Regions from separate parts of the Homo sapiens genome. Here region 1 is linked to region 2. Evidence: promoter capture Hi-C in 16 types of primary human blood cells and fetal thymus (Javierre and others, 2016). All regions are on one chromosome and are shown on one strand. Each heading gives the region's core, a stretch centred on a gene start or on the middle of the fragment in contact. The rest is flanking DNA. Distances are from core to core; before and after follow the strand shown.

What was found. Contacts are between HindIII fragments. The CHiCAGO score rates a contact against its expected background, and 5 or more counts as called.
Region 1: a contact is called between a fragment that was not itself captured here and the fragment with the promoter of SETD6 in region 2, in 2 of 17 cell types (M2 macrophages and monocytes). The highest score is 6.4, in M2 macrophages.

What each region holds. Positions count from the first base shown.
Region 1 is chr16:58,172,311-58,178,893 of GRCh38, reverse strand. CSNK2A2 (casein kinase 2 alpha 2) reads left to right here. Exons shown (of 12, transcript NM_001896.4): 5 at 4,384-4,443. Among named protein-coding and RNA genes, the nearest start is that of CSNK2A2, 23 kb to the left of the region's middle. The HindIII fragment of the contact is 709 bases long and covers 2,916-3,624 here.
Region 2 is chr16:58,512,390-58,518,834 of GRCh38, reverse strand. SETD6 (SET domain containing 6, protein lysine methyltransferase) reads right to left here and starts at 3,318. Exons shown (of 8, transcript NM_001160305.4): 1 at 3,271-3,318; 2 at 2,738-3,044; 3 at 2,492-2,633; 4 at 2,163-2,357; 5 at 1,907-2,027; 6 at 604-784; 7 at 292-434; 8 at 1-111. The coding sequence starts at 3,297. It overlaps NDRG4 (NDRG family member 4), which reads right to left. Exons shown (of 15, transcript NM_001242835.2): 15 at 5,216-6,445. RefSeq lists enhancers at 1,445-1,614, 2,264-2,433, 3,474-3,643 and a silencer at 2,694-3,353. The HindIII fragment of the contact is 14,988 bases long and covers 1-4,507 here.

The DNA of each region.
Region 1 (6,583 bases), core at 2,021-4,520, 340 kb after region 2:
TGTTAATTATTTGGAATTTGTTGATGGTTGCTTTGTAACTTTAGTACATGATCATTTGTTATACCAAGTGTGTTAATTTAGTTCAGAATTATGGCCTACTAATTTTTTTCCTTGTATTTCACTTTATGGTAGAGGTATTGGTTTGGTCAGTTTCTCCTTAAAATCAGCAGTTTTTATGCTTCATATATGCCAAAACTGTAATAAAGATACTTTAGAACAAGACAAAACTTCGAAACGAATGAATGAGAAAAGTCAGTCTCTAAGAGTTGGACTGAATAATTGTAGCAACCTCCCATACTTAAAAGTGTCTCAGGCCGGGTGCGGTGGCTCATGCCTGTAATCCCAGCATTTTGGGAGGCCGAAGCAGGCAGATCACCTGAGGTCGGGAGTTAGAGACCAGCCTGACCAACATGGCAAAACCCCGTCACTAAAAATACAAAAAAATTCGGCGGGCTATGGTGCACGCCTGTAGTCCCAGCTACTCAGGAGGCAGAGGTAGGAGAATCACGTGAACCCGAGGGGGCAGAGGTTGCAGTGAGCAGAGATCTTGCCATTGCACTCCAGCCTGGGCAACAGAGTGAGACTCCATCTCAATTGAAAGAAAAAAAAAGCGCCTCAAGAGAAGCTAAGGTACTATTTTGAAATACAAAAAAAAAAAAAAGATTTCGATAAGACACTCCAAATGGGCTCCATCCTAAGAAGCTGGTAGAATCATATTGATATTTGGAGGATTTCTAAATCACTCACATAGAGGTAAATCACCACTTAGTAAATAATGTGAGGCCTTGTTAATTCTGTTAGAGGTTGAGTTTACAGACTAAATAGTTTCCTTAATTGGAGAAACAAATTGTACTTTTATATTATGTCGTGTATGTTATTATAGGTCGTTAACATTATTTTGTCATTTCCTTGTAGGAAAATAAGTGACATTTTCAGGGGATTCGTAATAACTTTGATCTGCTTGATTAAAGATTTATTCTACTTCCTTAAATTTCTAAAAACGTTGACCTCGGTTTTATTCTGGAACTTAGAGGTTACATGTAAACAATTCTTAAACTGGTGACTGCTACAGTAAATACCTCTTTTGCTTGGACTTTATGTATCCCACCACTTTTTCTTCTCTCTACACATGACAGGGATTTATGGGCATAGACTGAGCTGTGTATATCAGGGAATGTGCACACACTGTGTGGCTTGAGAGTTTGGTGTGTTGGTGATTCCCACATCTGGCAGGTGACCAGAGCTGCCTGGGAAGCTGTCTTATAAAAGTGTGAATCTTCCTGAAGGTCATGGTTGGGAATGGGGTCTTCAGATCTGTGGCTCATGGTGATGCAGCTGAATTGCACTTGGAGTCTGAACAGCTGTGTGTATGCCTACGGTAGCAGTGAGGCCCACCTGTGGCCATGCCTTTGTGGGTGTCTGTGGTTTTACACCATGGAGGCCCTCCTCAGACTTTTTGGAGCTAATTAAAAGGCCCAGGAAATTTCCACCTTTTAAGTCATTTATTTTTTGAAAATGTAACCAAAGCTGACTTCCTGCCAGCATTTTGCAGTGGATTGTTTAATAATGTTCTCCCTGTAGCTGGCTAAGAAGAAGGGAGAGAAAGTGTAGTTCTTGTGACGTTTCTCTTTCTAATGTGTCATGGACTCTTGGTACTTCTGTTTCTTGGAAGAGTGCTTCTGTTTTGTTCCATTGACTGTGAACATTGTAAAAACATGTATGCAAGACAGAGCTGCCATACATGGTGTTTGGTGTATGAAGCACTTGCTTTTCGGCTGTGTGAGGACTTCATATGTGGTTGGAGTTCAGTGTAGGAAATGGGTGTGGTACTGAGTGAGTTGTTCAGTGGGCCCTTGGCATACTTGGGTGGTGGGGAGAGTTCAGAGATCTTTTATCACCAAATTTGATGACTCTGCCACCAGCCACTGTACCCATTTCTCCCTGTTGTGTATGCCACGAAGCACAGGGAATGTTGGCATGAGACTCTTGGGGTCTGGACAAAGCACGCAGCAGAGTGAGGAGTCACCTTGAGAACCTGAGGTTACCACCAGTCCCTGTGTGAGGAATGTTAACTCTGGGGACATTGTGTTCTTAATGGTGTCCTGTGCACAGCCACATTGGAGAGTCAGTGGCATGGAGATAGAGAAGGGAGGTATCATTGTCAGCTCTGTAGAAAGCAGACAGGTTGGTTTTGGCTTTACAGGCTAAGGTGGAGTAGGGCTAGAGAGGGAAGAGTGGAGGCAGCAAACACGGGCTTGTTTTGTCAGAGCTGTGGACTCCTGGGGGTACAGTGAAGAACAGAGCTACAAAAGTCGGAGGAAGCCAGACTGTGGACCCTGCATAGTCTTGAATTTTGGGCCCAGGCGGTTAAATGTTACAGATGTAGTTTGGTCTCCTCCTACCCGGAGATCCTGAGAAGTGAGGGTGAATGGCAACCAGTCACTTGGGACTTTGTAATATCTTAGTCCTAAACACTAGTGTACAACTGGTGTCTTTGAATTAAATTGTTAATGGTTTTTGTAGCTAGAAATACTGTGTTGGCAGTCCAGAGACATTTATTTTTATGGCTTACACCATTTATACAGATGCATGGTGTAGGTACCACATGATGAGGGAGGCCTTCCACAGATAAAAGTCCTAATGAGATAGCCCATGTTAGTTTTCTGGAAATAAAATATTCCAGCCCTCTAAGGGTTAGAAAATTAGATCTTTTCTCTTTCATAGCGTATTTATTGACTTGAAGTTCAATTTAGCCTAGTCTCTGTGAGTGATTTCCTTAACTCACAGAGGAGGAGCTGCTTTGACACCCAAGAGATGGCATCTTAAGCCTGTCTTTACATTCAAGCTGTCAGTGTGCAGCCAAGTCCTGGCTAAGAAGCCTTCTTGCAGCAGAGCTGGGAGAAGAACAAAAAGCTTGGGTGTGTGTTATGTAGCTGAAGCTCTCCTGAGCAGAAGTGGTGGCTTGTTGGTGTTGTTCTGCCTGAATGGGGGTCAGCTGTAGCCAGGGCCAGCCACCCAACCCCACAACACCATGTACTGGCCTGTGCATTTCGTTCCCTGCGCTGCCCTGAGGTTGATGAAATCAAATATTTTTCCTAAGCTGGCAGGGGGAATTACTCTTACCTAAAGGGGGAAACTTGAGAAAGCAAAGACCTGGTATTCTTAGAAAATGTTAAATTTGGTTCTTGGCAAATTTGATTTTTTTATTAAATTTTTTTGAACATTATATGTGGATCAAAAATATAAAATGGTAGACAGTGAAAAGTCTCTTTTATTCCCCTGTATTCCAGCTGCCTATTCCTTTACACATATATACGTGAAACCAGTTTTTATTACTTCTGTATCATTTTTGCAGATACAGAAAATATGGATGTATAGTTTTTATTTTCCCCCTTATTACAGAGACACATTATATACACTGTTCTGTGTTCCCTGGAGAGATTCCCTACATTGCTTGAGTCTCTCTTTCAATAGAAGAACAAGAGAAGTTTAATAAAGGTGTGTTTCTTAATTTTATAGAAAGCATGGCTTGGATTGATGGGAAAACAGATTTACATGGATTTGATTGGATATCAAAGATAATGAGAGTTCCTGACAAGGGTTTATGATGCCTTTAATGAAGCTTGTAGCATTAATGTATTCTGACTCTTAGAAATTTTTTAAAAACTCCCAGCGAGTGGGTCTCTGGATTACCAATAATGAAAACTTCCATTTACCTATCAGTTTGGCCAGTGATCATTTTTGATACCCCTGTCTTTTTTCACTCCTAAGACGTCAGGTGTTGCCTGTGAAATGTTCTTTTTTTCCAGTCTGGAATTGGTTTCCGGGGAGCAGAGGGTATAGATTTTTTTGTAAGCTCTTGCCATCTGCAAATGCTATAGCACCTCCTTTTTCCTTATTTTTCTTTTTTGAGAACAGCCTGTGTCGCCACTGTTTTACCACAGTAGCCCATGAAGTTCTTCAGAGCTCTGCCATCCACTCAGAACTCACTTCTCTAGAGTATACTGTGGTGTTACAGTGGGGTTAGTTTTCTTGATGTTCGGTAAGAATGTGAAGACAGACAACTTAGACTTCACAATGGTGTAATTGTGGTTAATAATTGTAATTGGCAAAATCACAGAGCATTAAATAGGAAAGATCTGAGTTGGCTTAAATGTTTTTCTCCCTTGGAATTCCTTCCATTTTTTTTTTTCTTCTCTTCTGATGATTAAAATATAAAACCTTCATCTTTAGTCTTCCCATTTATTTCAGATCAGGTAGTAAAAAAGTCATGGGATTCCTTAGTCACTTAAGTATCAAATAAGCTTAGAGAATGGCCTGCACTTAGGATGACAAGATGCAGTGAGACTAAATTAACTTTCTGTTTTCTGGAATCTGTTTCAGCAACTCTACCAGATCCTGACAGACTTTGATATCCGGTTTTATATGTATGAACTACTTAAAGTAAGTGGTGTTCATAAACCATTAATTTTTTTCAGGCCTGTTCATTAAAAGATAAGTTTTTGAGAGAACAAAGAGAACTTAAGCAGAATGTTTCTTGATACCCAGAGGATTTAGTGAAGTTTTTAAACTTATATTGAGGCCTCCATCGAGGAATCTTCACATAGAAACTTTCCAGTGGAACTGGGAAAAAAGTGGCCAAGTCAAGGGGTACCAGGGACATTATACCTTAGAACCTCCCATAGCTCTTGTTGGTCCATATGTTTTCTCTTTGCTGCTTTATTAATACCTACTGTGAATGTAACAAATCATCCCAAACTTAATGACTTTTAAAAAATGATTATTGTTTCTTATAATTGAGTTAGCCAGGTGATTCTTTAGGTCTCAGTTGATTTGACTGGGGCAGGATGGTCCAGGATGACCTCATTCACAATCTAGGACCACAGCTGGGGCAGCAGGGATAGCTGAGGTCTCATCCTCCAGCCTGTGAAGTTCATGCTGCTTCCCATGGTGGTCCTCCTGGGGTTCCTAGCAGCAGAGAGAGGGAAACCTCAATGTATAGGCACTTTTCAACCCTCTACCTGTGTCATATTTGCTAATAACCCTATTGGCCAAAGCAAATCACATGGCCAAGCCTAGCTTCAAAGCATGGAAAAACCGACTCCACTCTTGATGGGAAAAGCATTGAATATGTAGGCATATTATAGAGAGACATGCCTACAGGGGTGGCAGGCATTTGCAGCCATCTTTCCTTGCCATGTGTCGTCATCCCCTTCTTGCATGAGTCTTCCTAACCTACCCCTGTAGCCGTGGCTCGTTAATGCAGGGAAAAGTGATGGGTAGAATGTCTAAGAGACTTACTAATCCCAAGCACAATGAAATTTGAAGAATTACTGGTTGGTGGAGGAATGATCATTTTGTTTGTCTAGATAAGCACTTAAAGGAATGCTCAGTTTGTAAAATGGAATACACCCATGGGTCCTAGATTTTTGTGTCCTGGATCACTAAGAACCTAATGAAAACTATGAACTGCCTCCAAAAATGCATGTATTAATATGCAGTCTTGTGAAAAGTTTTAGGGTAGTTGTAGATCTTAAGAACAGTTCTATGAAATGAATGTGTTTTTATAAGAACTTGTACGCACCACTTTTTATTAGAGAAAGCTGAGGTGGTGGATTTAAGGTTCACTCTTATGGCTAATGGGTCTTCCTTTTTGTCAGTAAGATCAGAAACACGAAAAAGGTCGAGCTTGATTTATCCCACGTTTCTCCATGTCTTCTCTAGACTAAAATTGAAGCATTGGTGTGGATAAAATTTGCAGTGCCATGATCCTGTGAACTGTCAGGCTAGCTCCTTTCCTGGAAGTGCTTCCTGAGTAATCCCATGCACTCTCACCCCATGAGAGCTACAATTCAGATCTCACAGTTGGTTATTTTTAAGTAAGATGGTTTGAGATTTTGTGTTATTTAACCATCAGCCAAAGCTAAAGTTGTATAAGCTAGCCTGCCCTTAGGTCCCATAAAGACATCCAACTAATGCAGGTCTTCCCAGGTGGACATGTGGGTGTCACTCAATGTCTGATGTCCTTTCTGCTTTCTGGAGGTAGCAGCTAGGCAGTGAGGACATATACTTATTTTTGCTAATGAGACGTAGAATCCCAGATGAAACTTGAAAAACGTCATTCATGCTTAATGGTCAGAAACTGTACGAGATTTTAAAACTGAAATAATTCCCCAAAGAATTTCAAAGCATGTCAGTAACTCCATAGGGAGTCCGACTAGGAAACTTGGCAAAAGAATTAATTACCTTACTGTATTTGTTCAGCCTTTGCTTTCATTGAGTATTTTTCACATGCCAGGTATTGTGGTCTTAATTAGTTTATTCCTTTGGACAAAGAGTAGGCAATATAGCAGAATCAACACTTGGTAAATTTTCTCTTTGAAAAGAAAAAACAGGAGTGGGGAAGACTAAATATTTAACTCCTTTGAAAATGTAGAAGCAACTGAGGCTGAGGGCTGCAGTGTGATGACTCGGTGACTTAACCTGATCTCCTGATTCAGATTCAAGGAGGTCTGCCCTCACAACCCCTGGTTTCATAAAGCACTGCCACAAAGGCACTTTGGAATCTTGCTACAGTTATTAT
Region 2 (6,445 bases), core at 2,069-4,568:
TTTGAGCTTGGGAATATTTGTGATCGTCAGGCTGCCCTCTTCCCTTTTATCATCTCCCCCTCCATCCTGGTCTTTAAGCTCTCTGAACTCCTCAGCAGGCATGCACAGTACCTAGAAGCAACCACAGAGCTCTTTAATTAGATGTACTGCTTTTGTACTTCTGAAATGACTCAGGAGACTAAACTCATCTTAGCATTTATTAAAAATCCCACATTTCCTCTCTCATCTTCTAGCTATTTTGCTTTAAATACTTAGATTATCAGCATTAAATGGCCATTTTCAGCCGTTTACCTTTAGTGTGGTGGTCAGCTCCTCTTCAGTCAGCACCTCCTCCCTCCCTATCACAAAGGCTCCCTCTTCCCCTACCATCTCCAGTTTGCATAGGAAATCCCAGCGCTCGTACACTAGGTGCCTTTCAGCTTCAGTTTTTGTTCCTGTAGATGAAACAGCAATGTGAAAGTCTCAGTACACCCAAGGGTTCATTTCTTCTTTAGTCTGCCACCCAGTCTACAAAGTCAACTGCTATTTAGCAAAGCTATTTAACCTGAGGCATGGGTATAGACACACCATCAGTGTCAAATATTGAGTTAATGATACACTCACCCTGTAATGCTGCCTCACGAACTGTCACCATCTGAATGTCAGCTGTGTCATCTGTGTTGTCAGGATATGGTTCAACAAAACCGTACATATGAATCAGTTGCCAGTTAGCCATTTGCCCATAAGTGTTGAAAATCTCATGGCCTTTAGGAATGGGCTGAGTGGCTACCATCCGAAGACAATTCTGAGGTGAAAGGGAGAAGCTGGGGCCATGCCTTTCACGGGCCAGCCCCATGAAGATTATTTCCACTTAAGAAGAGCCTTCAGCAGGTGTAGTTCAGCCATGACTGATGCTGTTAACTACCAAAGTTCTACCTTTAGTTCCTGTTAGACCCTAAACTGTGAAACAAAAAAGGGTTGGGCTAACTTTAAAAGGCCAGCTTCATGTTTAACTGGGTGGATTTCTGCACAGTCCTCTTCAGCACTTAAAAAGTTGCTAGCTTTAAAAACGAAATTTTCGGCCAGGCGCAGTGGCTCACACCTGTAATCCCAGCACTTAGGGAGGTCAAAGTGGGCAGATCACCTGAGATCAGGAGTTCAAGACCAGCCTGGCCAACACGGAGAAACCCCATCCCTACTAAAAAATACAAAAATTAGCCGGGCATGGTGGCAGGAGCCTGTAATTCCAACTACTCGGGAGGCTGAGGCAGGGAGAATTGCTTGAACCCAGGAGGCGGCAGTTGCAGTGAGCCGAGATCACGCCACTGCACTCCAGCCTGGGCGACACAGTGAGACTCCGCCTCGGGGGGGAAAAAATGGAACTTTCGCAGATCAAAGTGGGAAAGGAAAATGGAGGCAAGGATTAAGAAATAACCATACTTACTAATTTCTGATCCTATAAATGTGCCATCTTTTCAGGCTACTTTTTATATAGAATAGAGCTGGTATAAACACAGCTTTATATCAGTTCTAGGATCGTCTTAGACCTTTGGCCTGTGAATGTCCTCATCCCTCCAAAACACGGAGACTATCACTGTTCCAGGCTGCTATCCACAGAGCCACACACAGTCTGGGCTCACTGATGTGATCAGCCAGAAAGGAATGAAACATGGCTATGCAGACCACTCAATGTCTAGCACTAAATAAATGATGGTAGTATAGTTTATCAGAGGATTAACCACAACTTACTTTGAGGACTTTAAAATGTTTCGCATTCAAATGATTCTACAGTAATATGCATACTAAAAGGACATACAGGAGGAGCTGATTTCACCTACTCATTTTGTAGCACTAGTAAGAGAATGGAGCCTAAGACACAATGGCTTGAATCATGCTCAATCAGTGCACCAAGAGAAACTCCACTCACCGCAGAGTATTCTAGATTGGCGTTGTGATTGGCTAAGTGGTTTAGTATGTCTGCAGCAGGCACCATCACGGGGGAGTTGGGCTCCTTTTCATCCTCTTCTTCCTCCAGTGGTTCCTGAAAGCTGCCATTGACAGAACCTGGCTAAGGCCCTGTCTTGGGTGAGGGACTGGGGGTGGATTTCACTGTTTTTCCACTTTTGTCCCTCTATAGAGTTGTAAAGAAAAGGGTTCCGTCCTCAGAGGCCCCACCCACTGACCTATAGGCCATCACAAGGGCCACCAGCTGGTGGTAGAGTTCTAGGGAGCGAACCCTGAGGCTGAAGAGATCGGGGTGGGCTTCCATGAAGGGCAGCACGATGGACTGGTACTCGCTGCGGATGTTGGCCAAATCCTTCTCCACGGCCTCAGGTACGCCTGTGCCCTGGAGCAGGCACCGGCGCTCCTCCTCTGGCCTGCAGGGACACCCACACCCAGGTTCCCTTCATTCCTTCACACACTTTACTGGGTAGGACTGGTGCAGGGGCGGGGAAACTTCTTGCAGCAGGCTACGGTGCAGGCGCTCCCCAACCCCTCCCAAGGCTCTCACCAGAACATCGGGTGCTCCAAGCGGCCCAGCTCGGGCCAGAGCGCAAAGTAGGGCCTCCAGCGTGAGGCCGGGGCCTGCAGCTCGTGGAGCAGCGCCAGCAGCAGTGGCACCCAGCCCGACTGGCTCTGCAGCGCAACTCGCTCTGAGGAAGACACAGGTGTGAGCGCCCCGGCGCGGCCTCGCGGGCCGGGCCCGCCCCGCCCCGCCCCGCCCCGCCCCAGGGCCCTAGCCCGCCGCCGTGCCCACCTCGCTCCAGCAGGCCGCCGATGGAGCAGGTGTGCTGCGACAGGAGCGCGGCCCGCGGCACCACGAACAACAGCTCTCCGGCCTGCACGCTCTCCCGGGCCACCATGCCGTAGCCGGCCACCGTGCCCTGCCGGCTGACCGCCACCTGAGCAGGAGGGCTGGTCAGGGCAGCCCGCGCCCCGCCGCGGGTCCTCCGCCCGCCGGCTCGCTCGCTCACCTTGGGACTCAGCTCCAGCCCCACCCGCCGGCACCAGCTCAGGAAGCAGGCCACAGGATCCAGGTCGCCGCCGTCCACGGGCCCCGCCACCTGAGATAAGTGCGCGCAGTGACCAGGTCCGACCCCCAGAGAGGCCGCTGGGAACTGCAGGAGACCGCGGCGCGAGCGCAGAACGGGCTTTGGGTGGAGGAGGGGACGAGCGGAGAGGGGCGCGGGACCCGCGGGAGGGAGCGGAGGGGGCGCAGGCGGACGGTTCTGCGAACGGAGAAGGGGTGAGGCGCGGAGGAAAAGGCTGGACCCCGCGCCCGCCACTCACCCGTGGACGCTTCGCCTGGGTCGCCATGGTCTAAGAGCGCGTTTCCTCGCGGGCCGGCGCACCGCGCGGTCACTTCCGGCGTCTCTGGCCCCGCCCCGGCGCCGGAACCACGTGGTGCCTGTTTTGTCGTCCACGCTGCAGACTGGCCGGAGTTACCGCGGGCTGGAATCGTTCCTCATGAAAACATCTTGAGTCCAGGATCTCCAATTGCACTCACGCGCTGCGAGTGCAGAAGGAGAGTCCCGTGCCGCTTGGCGCCTGGTTCTGAGCCAGGTACAGCCCTGGCCTTCGGTCTGTCCCCGAGGGCTGAGGCTTCTTGCGGTCTGGGTGCAAGAACAAAATACGGTTTCTGGATCGGAAGCCGAGGGTCTGGTGGCCGGCCGGTGGTGAGCGACGCAACTGGGCGGCGAGCGACCTCCTGATCTCGACCCCTTGTTGCCGATGGCCATGGAACCCTTTTACTGGTGGTATTCGTTCAGAGCAGTTTTCGTGTGTGTTTCAGAGTGGCGTGGCCTAGAGGGCTCCTGGATCTAGAATAGATCCTCTCTGCCCTTATTTGCCAGTACATCCTCGTTTTTAATCTGCTGCATAGCACGTGGTGGGTTTTATTAGCTGACATAGTAGGGACTCAATATCTACCTATTGGGTAAATAAATGAATAAAACAAATGGTGGTTAAACCTGGGGAAGTAGCATGCTGTTAAATGTAAGAAAATGAGGCTGTGAATATAGAGGTTACAGGAATGGGTTTTGAAGCCAAGCAACGCCGCAGCTCAACACTCAGTTTTTTTTTTTTTTCCTTTTTTTTTTTTTTTTTTTTGGCGCGTTGGGGAGACGGGAGTCTCGCCCAGGCTGGAGTGCAGTGGTGCGATCTCGGCTCACTGCAACCTCCACCTCCCGGGTTCAAGCAATTCCCCTGCCTCAGCCTCCCAAGTAGCTGGGACTACAGGCGTACGCTGCCATGCCCAGCTAATTTTTTGTGTTTATTTTTAGTAGAGTCGGGGTTTCACCGCGTTGCCCAGGCTGGTCTCGAACTCCTGAGCTCAGGCAATCCCCCCGCCTCGGCCTCCCAGAGTGCTAGGATTACAGGCGTGAGCCACCGCGCGCGGCCTGGTCTGTTACTCAGGCAAATCCTTTTTCCTGAACCTTAGTCTCCTCACCTGCGAAACTAAGATAATACCTACTCTGTAGAATTAATGTAAGGATTGGTATGTTGACTAAAGAAAAAATATTAAGCTTTTAAATAATTAAAATTAGTTTTATTTAGAAGCCTTATTGAGGACTATAGACTGAGGCCTGTAGCCCAGGAGTAATCTTGTGAGGCTCCTCTAACACGGTATTTTAGTTTAGGTTATACATAGGTGAAGATTTAGTATGTGTAAAATCATATCAAAGTTTAGGGATAAGTATATCTGGTTATAGATTGCAGAGTATAATCATTAACCCTGTCAGACATGATCGTATGTTTAGGAGAAGGCAAAGAGTAGGTCATTTATCTTTGAAGGAATGTAGTGACTCAGGCAAGAGATTTGGAGGGCAGGGGTGTTTTGTTTTGTCTTTAAGGCATTTTTTTCTGGAGAGCTGTATTTTGTTTTTTTGTTTTATTTTGAGGCAGAGTCTTGCTCTGTCATCCAGGCTGGAGTGCAGTGGCACGATCTCCACTCACTACCACCTCTGCCTCCTAGGTTCAAGCGATTCTCCTGCCTCAGCCTCCCGAGTAGCTGGTATTACAGGCACGCGCCACCATGCTCAGCTAATTTTTGTATTTTTAGTAGAGACGGGGTTTCACCATGTTGCCCAGGCTGGTCTCGAACTGCTGGCCTCAAGTGATCTGCCCGCCTCAGCCTCCCAAAGTGCTGAGATTACAGGCTTGAGCCACCGTGCCTGGCTGAGGAGAGCTGTATTTTGTCACAGAGTCAGGGGAGAAATGAGCACATAAGCAGAAATGAGCACATAAGGCTTTTAATGTTTGTGACATTCTCATCTCACCGGTAAAATAATGTGACGTGTACTGGAAATAGAAAGATGGGTGGAGACCATCCTCTCCTAGCACCCTCAACCCAAAACCCAAGCAGCACCAGCAGCCCCTGCCCAAACATTCTGTTTCTCCAAAAGCCTCCCATGATGGGCATGGCATCACCACACTGGAATTCTTCTTAGGTTCTTTATTAGTTTTTCAGCACAGTTAACTCTTTCTACGTTGACTAGAGTTTTGTTTTACATTTTATCATCTCATGACAGCAGCCACCAGAATACACAAAATTAGGCTCTTTACTTTGTGCGGAGAAGAAAATAATAAACATTAAAAGTTCACCTTGACCAAAGAGACAACCTCCAGAAGAACACCACACATGGGAGGACCCGATGTACACACACACACACACACACACACACACATATAATGTATAGATATTTATAGATACATCTGGAAACAGCAAAAAACAAAATTCCAAGATTTGCAGTGTTATCTACAGTAAGAGGGATGAATTCTACCAGCTTTCAAACAGTCACATTCAGTATTCAGAAGAAGCACATGAGGGGGTAGAACTGGGCAGAAACTAACACGCCACCAGGCTAGTCATGGCTTAAGATTATAGAAGGGGGGTGATGTGTGTAGAGGAAATACGCATATAGGTGTCCTCTCAGCCTCAGAACACCCGCCACAACCCTTCCCCCGTCCACAGCCCTGCATGTTTTCACTGCTCTCTCCCGTTTTGGGGTTTGTGATTATTGATTTAGGGTCTGAGACAAATGGCTCTGGTTTCTGGGCCGCAAGATGCTATGGGGTAAGGTGAGTGGATGGAAAGCATACAACGCAGTCCTGGGCTTCAGGGGACAGCAGGAGGCTGGGGTGTAGGGGAAGCCTTTCTCTTCTACCTGACCCTTGTTCATGTCCAGAACCTTCAGCCCCCAGTAAGCCCCAGCCCAGGCGGCTATGGGGTGTGGGACTGTAGAAGCCTCGCTGCCTTGGGCCAGTTGACTAAATAAACTCTCTCTTCCTTAGTGATGCGTCCGGGACACACTGGCACAGCCTGGCCAGAGCTCTGCCTGAAACACCACACTGCTACTGATGGCGTTGCCCTCTGGGGAACCTGGGGGCAAAAAAGGGGTCTCCAGGAACTCAGCTACCCCTGCCTCTGGCCACCTGCGGGCTCCCAAAGGCAGTCACCACGAAG